Regions from separate parts of the Homo sapiens genome. Here region 1 is linked to region 2. The links are contacts of gene promoters, found by promoter capture Hi-C in human tissues and cell types (Jung and others, 2019). All regions are on one chromosome and are shown on one strand. Each heading gives the region's core, a stretch centred on a gene start or on the middle of the fragment in contact. The rest is flanking DNA. Distances are from core to core; before and after follow the strand shown. Region 1 overlaps ING5 (inhibitor of growth family member 5). Region 2 holds the start of GAL3ST2 (galactose-3-O-sulfotransferase 2).

The links. The method cuts DNA at HindIII sites, captures the fragments that hold promoters and counts their contacts. A contact is called where the count stands out against the background at its distance.
Region 1: a fragment that was not itself captured here is called in contact with the fragment with the promoter of GAL3ST2 in region 2 in 1 of the 25 tissues and cell types used here (mesendoderm cells).

What each region holds. Positions count from the first base shown.
Region 1 is chr2:241,716,030-241,721,836 of GRCh38, forward strand. All of the region lies in intron 5 of ING5 (inhibitor of growth family member 5), which reads left to right. Among named protein-coding and RNA genes, the nearest start is that of D2HGDH, 16 kb to the right of the region's middle. The HindIII fragment of the contact is 9,714 bases long and covers 1-5,807 here.
Region 2 is chr2:241,772,842-241,778,075 of GRCh38, forward strand. It overlaps GAL3ST2 (galactose-3-O-sulfotransferase 2), which reads left to right and starts at 3,981. Exons shown (of 4, transcript NM_022134.3): 1 at 3,981-4,143. The coding sequence starts at 4,115. RefSeq lists enhancers at 2,173-2,793, 4,035-4,655, 4,656-5,234. The HindIII fragment of the contact is 16,655 bases long and covers 1-5,234 here.

The sequences.
Region 1 (5,807 bases), core at 12-2,511, 60 kb before region 2:
TGATCTGCCCACCTTGGCCTCCCCTCCCTGTAAAGTGCTGGGATTACAGGCATGAGCCACCGCACCCGGCCTTCATTGCAATATTTGGTCTGTTCATATTTAACATAATTAATGATATGGTGGGATTTAGGTTCACCATCTTGCTATTAGTTTTCTGTTTGTTCCTTCTGCTCCTTTGCTGTCTTCTTTTGGACTAATCAGGTATTTTTTAGTATTCCGTTTTTTTCCCCACTCTTGTCTTATTAGCCATGCTTTTTTTTTTTTTTTTTTTTTTGAGACGGAGTCTTGCACTGTTGCCCAGGCTGGAGTACAATTTGCAATGGCATGATCTTGGCTCACTACAACCTCTGCTTCCCAGGTTCAAGCGATTCTCATGCCTCAGCCTCCGCAGTAGCTGGGATTATAGGTGTGCGCCACCACACCCGGCTAATGTTTTTGTATTTTTAGTAGAGACAGGTTTTCACCATTTTGGCCAGGCTGGTCTCGAACCCCTGACCCCAAGTGATCCACCCACCTCGGCCTCCCAAAGTGCTAGGATTACAGGCGTGAGCCACTGCCCCGGCCCCTGTATTTTAAGGATTGTTCTAGTGTGTGCACTCAGTTTCCTTAAGTTATCACAGTGAGCTTCAGATATTACACTATTTGATGTTTAACGTGTGGCTCCACACAAGTGTTCTTCCATTTCCTGCCTTTGTGCTGTTGTCCTTCACTTTGCCTGTGATCTGAGCTTCCCAGCACGTTATTACCTTAGATGCAAACCACTGATGACGTGAAACACGCCTTAAAATATATGTGGAATGTAAAGATGTTGAACTCACAGAAGTAGAGAGTAGAATGGTGGTCAGGCGCTGGGGTGGTCAGGGGAGACGTTGGATACAGAATTTCATTTAGATAGGAGGAATAAGTTCAAAAGATCCGTTTTACAACATGGTGACTACAGTTAATAACAATATAGTCTCAAAAAAATGTGTAGATTTTAAGTGTTCTCACCACAAAAGTCACCCCATATATAGTTACCTCATATAGTTGCCATTTCTGGTAACCTTCATTTTTTTTTTTTTTTGAGACAGAGTCTTGCTCTGTGTCCCAGGCTGGAGTGCAGTGGTGCGATCTCAGCTCACGGCAACCTCTGCCTCCCAGGTTCAAGTGATTCTTGTGCCTCAGCCTCCTGAGTAGCTGAGATTACACCCACCTACTCACCTGGTTAATTTTTGTATTTTTAGTAGAGATGGGGTTTTGCCATGTTGGCCAGGCTGGTCTCGAACTCCTGGCCTCCAGTGACCCTCTCGCCTCAGCCTCCCAAAGTGGCAGGATGACAGGCATGAGCCACCGCGCCTGGCCCAACTATTATTTCTTAATATTTATTTTCTTTCTTTAAAAATTTTTTTTCCATACATATTCTGCTTACGTATATTTCTTTATGTGGATGCAAATTTCTGTCTTGTCATTTCTCCTCTACTGAAGAACTTTAACATTTTTTGCAGTACATGTATGCTGATGGTGATGAATTCTCTGTTTTTGTTTCTCTGAAAATGCTTTTATTTCACTGCGTATAGAATTTTAGGTTGACCTTTTTTCTTTTATCGCTAAAGATGTTCTCTCATTTTCTTCTGTCTTTCATTGATTCTGATGATAAATTACTGATAATAATTATTTTTGGTGGTTTCTTTTTTTTTTTTTGCTTTTAAGATTTCTCATTGTCACTGGCTCTTAACAGTTTGGTTATGATGTGTATTGGTGTGATTTTTTTGTGTATATTTTGCGTGGAACTTGTTGAGCATCTTTGAACTGTTGGTTTATACTTTGCATCGAATTTGGAAAATTTTCAGACAGTTCTTCCAGTATTTTTGTGCTCTCCTTTCTCCTCTTCCTGCTGTCCAGCTCCCTGTGCGTTCCTTAGCTTAGATTTTCTCACAGCTCACCGAGGCTCTGCTTACTTTCTGCAAGCTTTTTTCTTTCTGTACTTCAGTTTGATTTGTTTCTATTACTTTATTTATTTATGAGACAGGTTCAGGCTCTGTGGCCCAGGCTGGAGTGCGGTGGCGCAATCTCCGCTCACCGCAGCCTCTGCCTCCCGGGTTCAAGCCATTCTCCCGCCTCAGCCTTCCAAGTAGCTGGGATTACAGGTGAGCGTCACCACACCCGGCTAAGTTTTGTATTTTTAGTAGAGTCGGGGTTTCAGCCTGTTGGCCAGGCTGGTTTCAAACTCCTGGCCTCAAGTGATCCGCCCAGCTCAGCCTCTCACCTTCCCTTTCCTTCTTTCTTTCCTTCCTTCCTTTCTTCTTTCCTCCCTTCCTCCCTCCCTCCCTCACTTCCTTCCTCCTTCCCTCCCTCCCTCCCTTCCTCCCTCCCTCCCTTCCTTCCTTCCTTCCTTCTTTTCTCTTTCTGTCTTTTTTTTTTTTTTTTTGAGACGGTCTTGCTTGGTCACCCAGGCTGGAGTGCACTGGTACAATCTTGGCTCACTGCAAGCTCCGCCTCCCAAGTTCAAGCGATTCTCTGCCTCAGCCTCCCAAGTAGCTGGAATTACAGGCACGTGCCACCATGACTGGCTAATTTTGTATTTTTAGTATAGACAGGGTTTCACCGTGTTATGCAGGCTGGTCTCGAACTCCTGGCCTCAGGTGGATCTGCCTGTTTTTGGCCTCCCGATGTGCTGGGATTACAGGCGTGAGCTGCTGTGCCCGGCCCTAAGTTAGTTTTAATCTCCTTTAATACATTTTTCATTTAAGAGATTGTAGGGCTGGGTGCTTTGGCTCATGCCTGTAATCTCAGCACTTTGGAAGGCTGAGGTGGGAGGGTCACTTGAGTAGCCGGGATCACAGGCATGTGCCACCATTCCTTGGTAACCAGCTTTTAAAAAAACATAATCAGTCCTATTTCCCTGCTGAGGGTACATGTCTCATGATTTATTAGCTGTCTGACTTTAGATATAAAGGAAGCGTGGAGAGGGAAATTTCTGTTCTCCCCAGGAGGTGTTCGTTCTGTTTTAGTCCAGGCCAATAGGGCTGGGGGCCTGGGGCGGGGCAGGGTCTCAGCTTCAGCTCCACCGAGGCCCCTTGAGGACCTTGAGGTTTCCTCTCTCGCCTCCTGCCCCAGCGGCTTCCACAGTTGGTAGAAGTGCGGGGGAGGAGACCAGCGGTGCCCGAGCAGACCCCTTGCTCGAGAACTCCGAGGTTGCAGGGATTTTCCCTCTGCTTTTAGTTGCTCTGTGCAGCCTCTGGACTATAAATGTCGGTGGGGACGCGGCCGCCATGTGTGGCTGTGTGGGCTCAGCGTGGCCCAGTGGCCAGCCCAGCCCTCACTCAGTGCATGAGGCAGGCGGACGCCGCCCCCAACCCCCCAACACCCCCCACTCTGGCTGCAGGTCATCTAGCTCTTGTTGCTCCACAGCTCCCCGACATCTTTGAGAATGTGGTTTTTGTGACTTGCTGGGTTTTGTGTTTTCTAACTCAGTGGCAACAGCGTTCTGAGTCTTCCTGCTCCTTCCTGCTCGGAACCTGAAGGCCCTGTCCCGACCGTGCCTTTTCTGCGTGAAAGTGGGACTCCTCCTGGTCTCTTCCTCACCCAGTGCTGTTTCTCAAGGGTATGCTAGGCATAAGGAATGCAGGCACTGGGGGTCCTCGTGGGGGTGAAGGAGACTCCAGCTCCCTGTTGGGGTCGGGGCTTCCTCCCTGAGGGCTCTGCCCAGCTTCAGAGACCTCAGGAACAGCCAGCACCTCTGCAAACACAGGAAGATCCACTGTGGCCTCATGGCTTTTCCTGTCCTGACAGTGCGCTGACCAGCACTGTTTAGTAGCAATGCGGAGCCTGGGAGCTCAGCGCTGCCTGCCGTGCAGGTCCCAGTAGTGACAGATGAGAAGGGTGATCACCGATGGCGACAGTTGCGGGGCCCTGCGGCTCTGGATCTAGCTTGTGTGTGAATCTCTTTCTTCTCTGTGCCCCCAAGTGGCAGTGCTGCTCCTGTCCCATTGCAAGACGTCGAGACAGGCTGGTAAGGCCAGCTCTGAAGCTGGGCTCTGACGTCCAAGGCGCCAAGGAGGCCCCTTCCAGAGGGACAGGAGGATGGTGCAGGTGGGCAGACGGGTCATCCTGAGGACCAGTCGGTTGGACCCAAAGCCTGGCCTGCCGGGGCGGGAGTGTGCACTCGGGTGCCTCCAAGGGCATCATCCTGGGTGTGTGCAGGAGCCCGCCTGCCCCTGGGCTCTGGAGTTCTGTGGTGCGCGTCCCTGACCCATCAGCACAGTGGGTATTCACGCCCCTCGTGGTCACGCTGTGGTGCCAGGCCGCTCTGCCTCAAGGCAGGTCCTGTTCCCTGCTGGGGACCCAGGCGCACGCACCATCCTGTCCCTGTGGACTGCCCTCTTCAGGCCTGTTCCCCACGTGCCCGGGGCTCTTCCTGGAATGCAGTGTTCCTAGACTGCACAGATGCTCCGTGTCTCGTCTGAGATCCCGTGACCTGAGGCTGCCCCCTGCACTGTTGCTGCCCTGTGGCCTTGCTCTGGCGAGGCAGAACCTGTGTGTGTGGATGAAGGGCAGTGTCACCTGTAGCACCTGGAATCCCGGGGCTTGGACAGGCAGCCAGCCCCCTGCTAGGAGCCACGTGGAGTGCTGGGAAGCCATCGGGGCCGGGCGCGGAAGGGCTCGCTGGCACCGTCTGGCGAGGGGTGCCTGCCACACCCTGGGGAGTTAGCACAGAGGGTGCCTCTTGTGGCAGTGGTGCTGAAGGGAGTCAGCAGCCGCTGACAGTTGGGGTCACCCTGGCCTGTGCAAGGGACAGGGCTCCCCATGGCCTCCTGGTTGCCTCCCTCAGGGCTGATAGCAGCACTCCCTGGCCACACGCCATGGCGCTCCCTCAGGCGAGACTGAGAGGCCAGTGAGGCCTGCACGGTGGCCTCAGCTTCTGGGGTGCCCTTGCTGGGCGGTCCCCTCAGGCCCCCGGCCCTCTCCCACAGCCATCAAATCTGGCCAGCGCCCTCGAACCTGGTGATGCTGAGACACAGGTCAAGTGGCAGCTCAAGATGTCAGGTCGGGCTTTGTGGACAGAATTGGACTCGGCGCAGAAGAGGAGGGCGTCAGCGTTTCGGGGACGGTTGGCAGCAGAGGGTGCTGCCCTGCTCTCCGCGGGTGAGAGGTGACTCGAGGAGACCGCAGGAGCCCCTTGGAGGTGAAGCCACAGGTGGCATCCCGGAATCGGCAGGAGGCTGAGACGTAGACCCTTGCGTGCTGCTGTCAGAGGAGAGACCCGAAGACTACTTGAGACTGTTGCTTGAAAGCAGTGTCGGCAGCACCTGGACCTGGACTTGTGACGCTGATGGATTTCAGCTCTAAAGAGAAACCCCTGTCTATTCCCAGACAGAGAGAAAGAGCAGAAGAGCAGATTACCTGCAAAGGACAGACTTAGGTGGGCGCCCCTGTGCCAGAGGGCAGCGGGGAGGCCGGGTGCATGCTGAGCCCGAGTGTGTGTGTATGTGTACAGGCAATTGCAAAGGCGTAGAAAAGCTTTAGACAGGTATCCAAGGAAAAGCTGAGTGTTGATTCCCTCTGGGACCCAGACTTCTGCTCCTTGGCTTTCCCTGATCGTGACTGTTTTTCTCACGGCCACGTTCCTCCTGCTAACCTGCTGTGTTTACATACCAACTAGATATTCGTGGGTTGGAGGGTGGGATAGGGAAGATACTTTTTCTTTCTGTACTAATGGGAATACACTGTCTATAGTACCTGCAGCTTGTAAGTTTATTTGAAAAATACTGAAATATAAAAGCGTAAATTTCCCCCTAAGTGCATCCCTTTCAAACAGGAAAGTCTCC
Region 2 (5,234 bases), core at 2,731-5,230:
TGCTGCCTCTGAGCACCTGTGACCTGAAAAGGCCCTACCCTCGGCCTGGGTCCCTTGGGGTGCCACTGACCTTCTGGGACCCTGAAGCTGCCTGTGTGGTAGGCGTGTCCACCCCCACACCCACCCAAACGATGCAGAGGAGTGAAAAATGATTCCTCGAGGAGCTGGTCCAGGGCCGGGCGCGGTGGCTCACACCTGGAATCCCAGCACTTTGAGAGGCCGAGGTGGGAGGATTGCTTGAGCCCAGGAGTTTGAGAAGAGCTTGGGCACACATGGTGAGACTCTGCCTCTACAAAAAATTAAACATAGCCAGGCGTGGTGGCATGCACCTAGAGTTCCAGCTACAGGAGGCTCTTACAGGGGAGGAGGGACAAGCCTGAGCTCAGGAGGTCGAGGCTGTGGGGAGCCCCACGTGACTACACCACTGCACTCCAGCCTGGGTGACAGAGCGAGACCCTCTCTGGAAAAATAAAAAGGAGCTGGTCAGGGAGGCCGAGAGCAAATAGCTGCTAGAATGTGGCGCTGCCTGGGACGGGGAGGGCTGGGGGCCCTTGGGGTGGACCAGGAGCCTGAGTTGAGGGTTAGGGGCAGGTGGAGGGGCTGGGAAGCTCGGGGCTGTCTTAGGAGAGCCCTCCTGACACCTAGGCCCTGGGCCGGGTTCCTCCTGGTGGAACATCACAGACCTGAGCCCTCCCACTCACTTTTCCTTGGACCCCACAGGCAAGGAGCTGGGGCGGCTGTCTGCTCCCAGGCTGAGGCCCCGGGACGGGCCCCTCCTCGCTTTGTTAGCCGGTTAGACCCAGGGCGGGCGCAAGCCCTTGGCAGTGCTCCCCAGCACTGCCCCTTGGACCTCAGGGGTGTGGGGAGGACAGACCAGGGCAGGACCCAGGAGGCCACAAGGGCTGGTGGGGGTCATGGTCCTGGCAGCCCCAGTCAAAGGCTCTGCCCTCCTGCACCCACCCCCAGAGGGGGATCCTCTCGAGGGAGCATGGGCCCTGTCTCCCCACCTGCCCTTCTGGGAGATCAAGAGTTGCTGTGAAGTTTCTAGAACAGTGCCCGGCCTGGCGGACGGGCACGGAGGTGCCTCCTGGGTGTGCCCGGGTGCGGCCTGACAGGGCTGGGGTCCTGTTGGGTTGTGGGCAGGTCCTCAGACGGCCTCCTGGCTCCTGCCTCGCCCCTCCCCACAGGCCCTGTGCCAGCGGCTGTGCAAACAGAGGCCAGGAAGCGAGGTGATGCTCCCTTTGTTTCTGGCAGAGTGTGTGGCACCTGGAGCTACCTTCCGGGTTCCATGGCCCTGGGGCCCTGGGGCCCTGGGGACAGGGAGGGAATGGGATGCACAGCGGCCAGGGGTGTTCAGCGTCACCGGTGGAAGGGGTGAAACCTGTTCTTCCTGGTGGTGAGGGTTTGCCCCTTGACTCCGGAAAGCAGAGACCGTGGAGCAGGGCCCACTTCAAAGCACAGTGCTGGGGGCTGTGGCCTCGGCCCTCTGTGGACGTGGGCGGATGGGTGGCCCTGGACTGGTGAAGGACTGGCCGGGAGTTCTGTAGGGCCCCCACCTCCTGCCAGCGCCCAGCCCACAGTCGACCACTGCCTGCCCGGGGCAGGAGACTTCCTTCCTGCAGCCCCGGACCCGGGATCTGAGACCTAGAAGCTGACTCCATCCTTTGACTGCTCTGTTCTGAGCTAGGCCACCCCTGCCCCTGCCCCGAGGTGGCCCTGGGCTTGCCCGCCCGCCTGCAGTGTCGGCTGAAGAGGGTAACGTGCGTGCGCCCCGGCTGCTCCCGGCTGCTCCCGGCTGCTCCCCGGCTGCTCCCCGCTGCTCCCGGCTGCTCCCCGGCTGCTCCCCGGCTGCTCCCCGCTGCTCCCGGCTGCTCTCGGCTGCTCCCGGCTGCTCCCCAGCTGCTCCCCACCGGCCTTGGGTCTGGTGGGTGTGGCCCTCCTAGTGGGACCAGGCCACACACTGGAGCACATGGGCACGGCAATGCCAATGCCGATGGAGGCGGGTTCCTGGGCATGTGGACCTGTCCCTTACTCGAAGCAGCTGAGGGGCCTCCAGCCAGCCCCGTCCGCACCCCAGGGGTTAGGGCTCTGCCATGGGGGCGTGGGCATCTGCTCTGACAAACAACGTGTGCATTTGATTGGTGTTCCTGAGTCACCGTGGACCAGGCAGGCTGCCAGAGCGGCTGATTCTTAGCGGGGAGCTGGGGCCGGGCAGACACCCTGACTCCCTGGGGCTCCCAGCAGGGCCCCACTGGCAACAGGCAGCCTCCTCCCTCTGGCCGCCGGGCCTCCGTCCCTTTCCCAGCCTGGGGCTGGGACCACCGCTCCACACCACACTGCACTGCCCTTGTCTGCCCCAGCAGGGGGTGAAGGTGGCTGGTGGCTGAGGACCCCCTGCCCAGGCCCACACTTCTTGCTCAGGCCCCATAAGTCACTTGGGATCTGGAGAGCTGGGGACTTTGACCTGGGAGGGAGGCATCTGGTCGTGACCCTCAGGCGTGTGTAGGGAGGTGCCTGGCCGTGACCCTCAGGCGTGTGTCCCTGGCAGGTTGCTCTCCACCGGCCCCACCGTTTGTAACACATGGCTCGGCCAAGGTGATTCTGGGGTAAGGACCCATGAGGCGCCATCTTCTTTGTTCCTAGGCTGAGCCTGTGGTGCCCTGGGCAGGGTGGGTGGAGGAAGCAGCAGGGAGGCTCCTTAATGGTGGAGTGAACACCCACACGGATGTCTCTGGATAGTGGAATGCGGAGGATGCAGGGCACGCCGGTGGAGAGCTGCCCAGCCGTGCCAGCAAGGCCCCGGCATCCCTCCCACCTGCCGTTAGCACCGGGAGCTGCTCTGCTGGCCCCTCCCACAGACTCGGGCTCTGGAGGTCTACAGAGCAGCTGGGAGGGTGATGCCTAGGCGGGGGCGGAGATGCCAGGCCCCTGGGCTGCAGGTGGAGGTAAATGGGGAAGGGAGGCTGGGGGTCTCTGGGCCTTTCGCCAGCAGCCGCCCAGCCCAGGGTCTCTGATGCCAGGGAGGTCCATGTGTGCTCGGCCCCTCCTCTGAGCCCCTCAGCCCAGCCTTGTTTCTGCCTCCATGGCTATGGGGCCTGCACCCATCCGAGCCAGGCACTGGCTAGGGCAGGGAGGCTGCCTTGGGCTGGGGCCAGTCCCGGAATCCAGGCTCAGCTGGCACCGACAGGGAGGGGTTGTGGGAAGGTGACCAGCCGTGTGGAGAGCTTGGCGTCGGAGGGCATGGTGGGCACCAGCGCTGGTGGGATGTGGCGAGGGTGGTGGTGACTCATGGCGCGTGGCCCGTAGCTCTGAGGAGCATTTGCGTTTTCCTGTGGATTCACTGTAGCGCCTGGTCACAATGTTGCAGCATTTCCCTGGCTGCTTGTCTCGGAATTAATATCTATTTCCTGAAAAGAGAAATGAACTTTCTTGCAGTAAAATCTAAACAAATATTTATATTTATTTTCCACCTCCATGTCCTGTTTCAAACTTATTGTCCAGCCCAAGATTTTAAAAAGTCAGATTTTCTTTTGGTGTGAAGCAGGCTCAGGAGGAGGAGGAGGGGGAGGAAGAAGAGGAGGACGAGGAGGGGGAGGAAGCTGGGAATTGGGCTGAGCTTTCCTCGCTCATCCTTGCAGTGGCCACAGGGCCCTCTGCCCTCTCGTCTGCGTCAGGTCCTGAGTTCTGAGTCCAGAAGCCGTCGCTGTGCTGTTGGAGCCCACCAAGCCCGTCCCTTGTGGGGACAGCTCCCTCCAAGCCCCCCGGGGGGATGGACACTGAGGGTGGGGCAGGGGAGCAGGGGTAGGCCCCAGGCAGGTCCTCCCAGGGCCTGGGGAACACAGGGGCCCATCGAGGGCTCCCCAGACTCCCTCAGCCAGTTCTTCCCGAGAACAGAACAGTTAAAACCAAGCCCTCCGATGGAGGTGCGGGGAGAGGGCGTGGCTCCCGTCCCAGGAGGCAGGTGAGCTTCTGGGGATTCCAGTTCACCTGCCCCACAGCCGCACCCTGCCTGTGCCTGCACCCTGGGGAGCCCAGAGCCGGCAGGGGCCGAGGCGGTGGGACCTCGGGGGAGCTCAAGCCTCGACTGTCCCCTCGCTGGAGGCCAGAGGCCAAGATGATGTCCATGCTGGGCGGCTTGCAGAGGTAAGGGGGGCAGTTGGACCCCCCAGGTGGACAAAGCGCTTCATCTGTGGCTATTCTGAGAGACGGACAGGAGTGGGTTTTGTTTGTCTTTCGAAGGAAGTGACTTGGATTTGGAGGCTGTTCCTACTCAGGCTTCCCTGAATTCACCTGTCTTGGCTTCGTTTCGGAAGTAGGGGGCCCCTCCTGCCCAGGCCTGGTGCTGCTTCTGGGTGTTTGGGGGTTCTGGGATGTGGGGCCCAGTGAGAAAGCTGCCCCCCAACACTGTGGCGTGGAGACGCTCGAGTGTCCGCGTGACGGCTGGGGAGGGTGAGACCTGCTGGGCTTGGGACCTCCCAGCCTCGGTCTGCGGCTCAGGCCCATGGCTGGGCCGTGTTGGTGGGAGTGCCAGGCGCTTGCTGGAGCGTTGGTCATGCGTGCGCTTCAGGATGCTCCCGGGGCTCTGGGTGGTGACGGGGAGGCTGGGCTCTGCTGTGCTGTCTCCCTTCTGTAAACAGAGGGGAGGTGGATTTCTTCCCAGTTAGGTTTGGAGGGGTGGTGGGTGTGGCTAAGGATGCCTTGCGTTTTCCTTCTCCTGCTCGCCATCCTGTTTGGGGTGATTCCAGGGCAGTTTGAAGCCGTCCCTGCGCTGGCAGGTCCCTGCCTCCCCGGGGCGTGTGCCGCCATGAATTCAGTTACCTTCCTTTAAGGGGTGACTTAAGACCAGCTGCCAGGACACTGGCTGAGGACACCCCGTCACAGGGCTGAGAGGTGTGGGGCCGGCTGCCTGGCCTGGACCATCCTAGATGCCCCCTCCTGTGGACATTGTGACCATATTGTGAAGAAGAGGCCCAGGGGCTGGGGAATCAGGCTCACTTGATTAGCTGGTGGCCAAGCTAGGGCCCCCCTGGCTGCCCTGGGGCCCCCCGAGGTCGGCCAGGGCGGGTGTGCCTGACCCCAGCTGAGACTCTGTGGGTGAGACATGGGAGGCATTGCAGCCGAAGGCCCTCGGGGAGCCCAGGGCACAGGCTCCTCAGCTGCTGGTCTCACTGCCTGGCAGGATGGGCTCACTGCAGCAGCCCATGCAGGCTGCACGTCCCACACTAAGGCCAGGG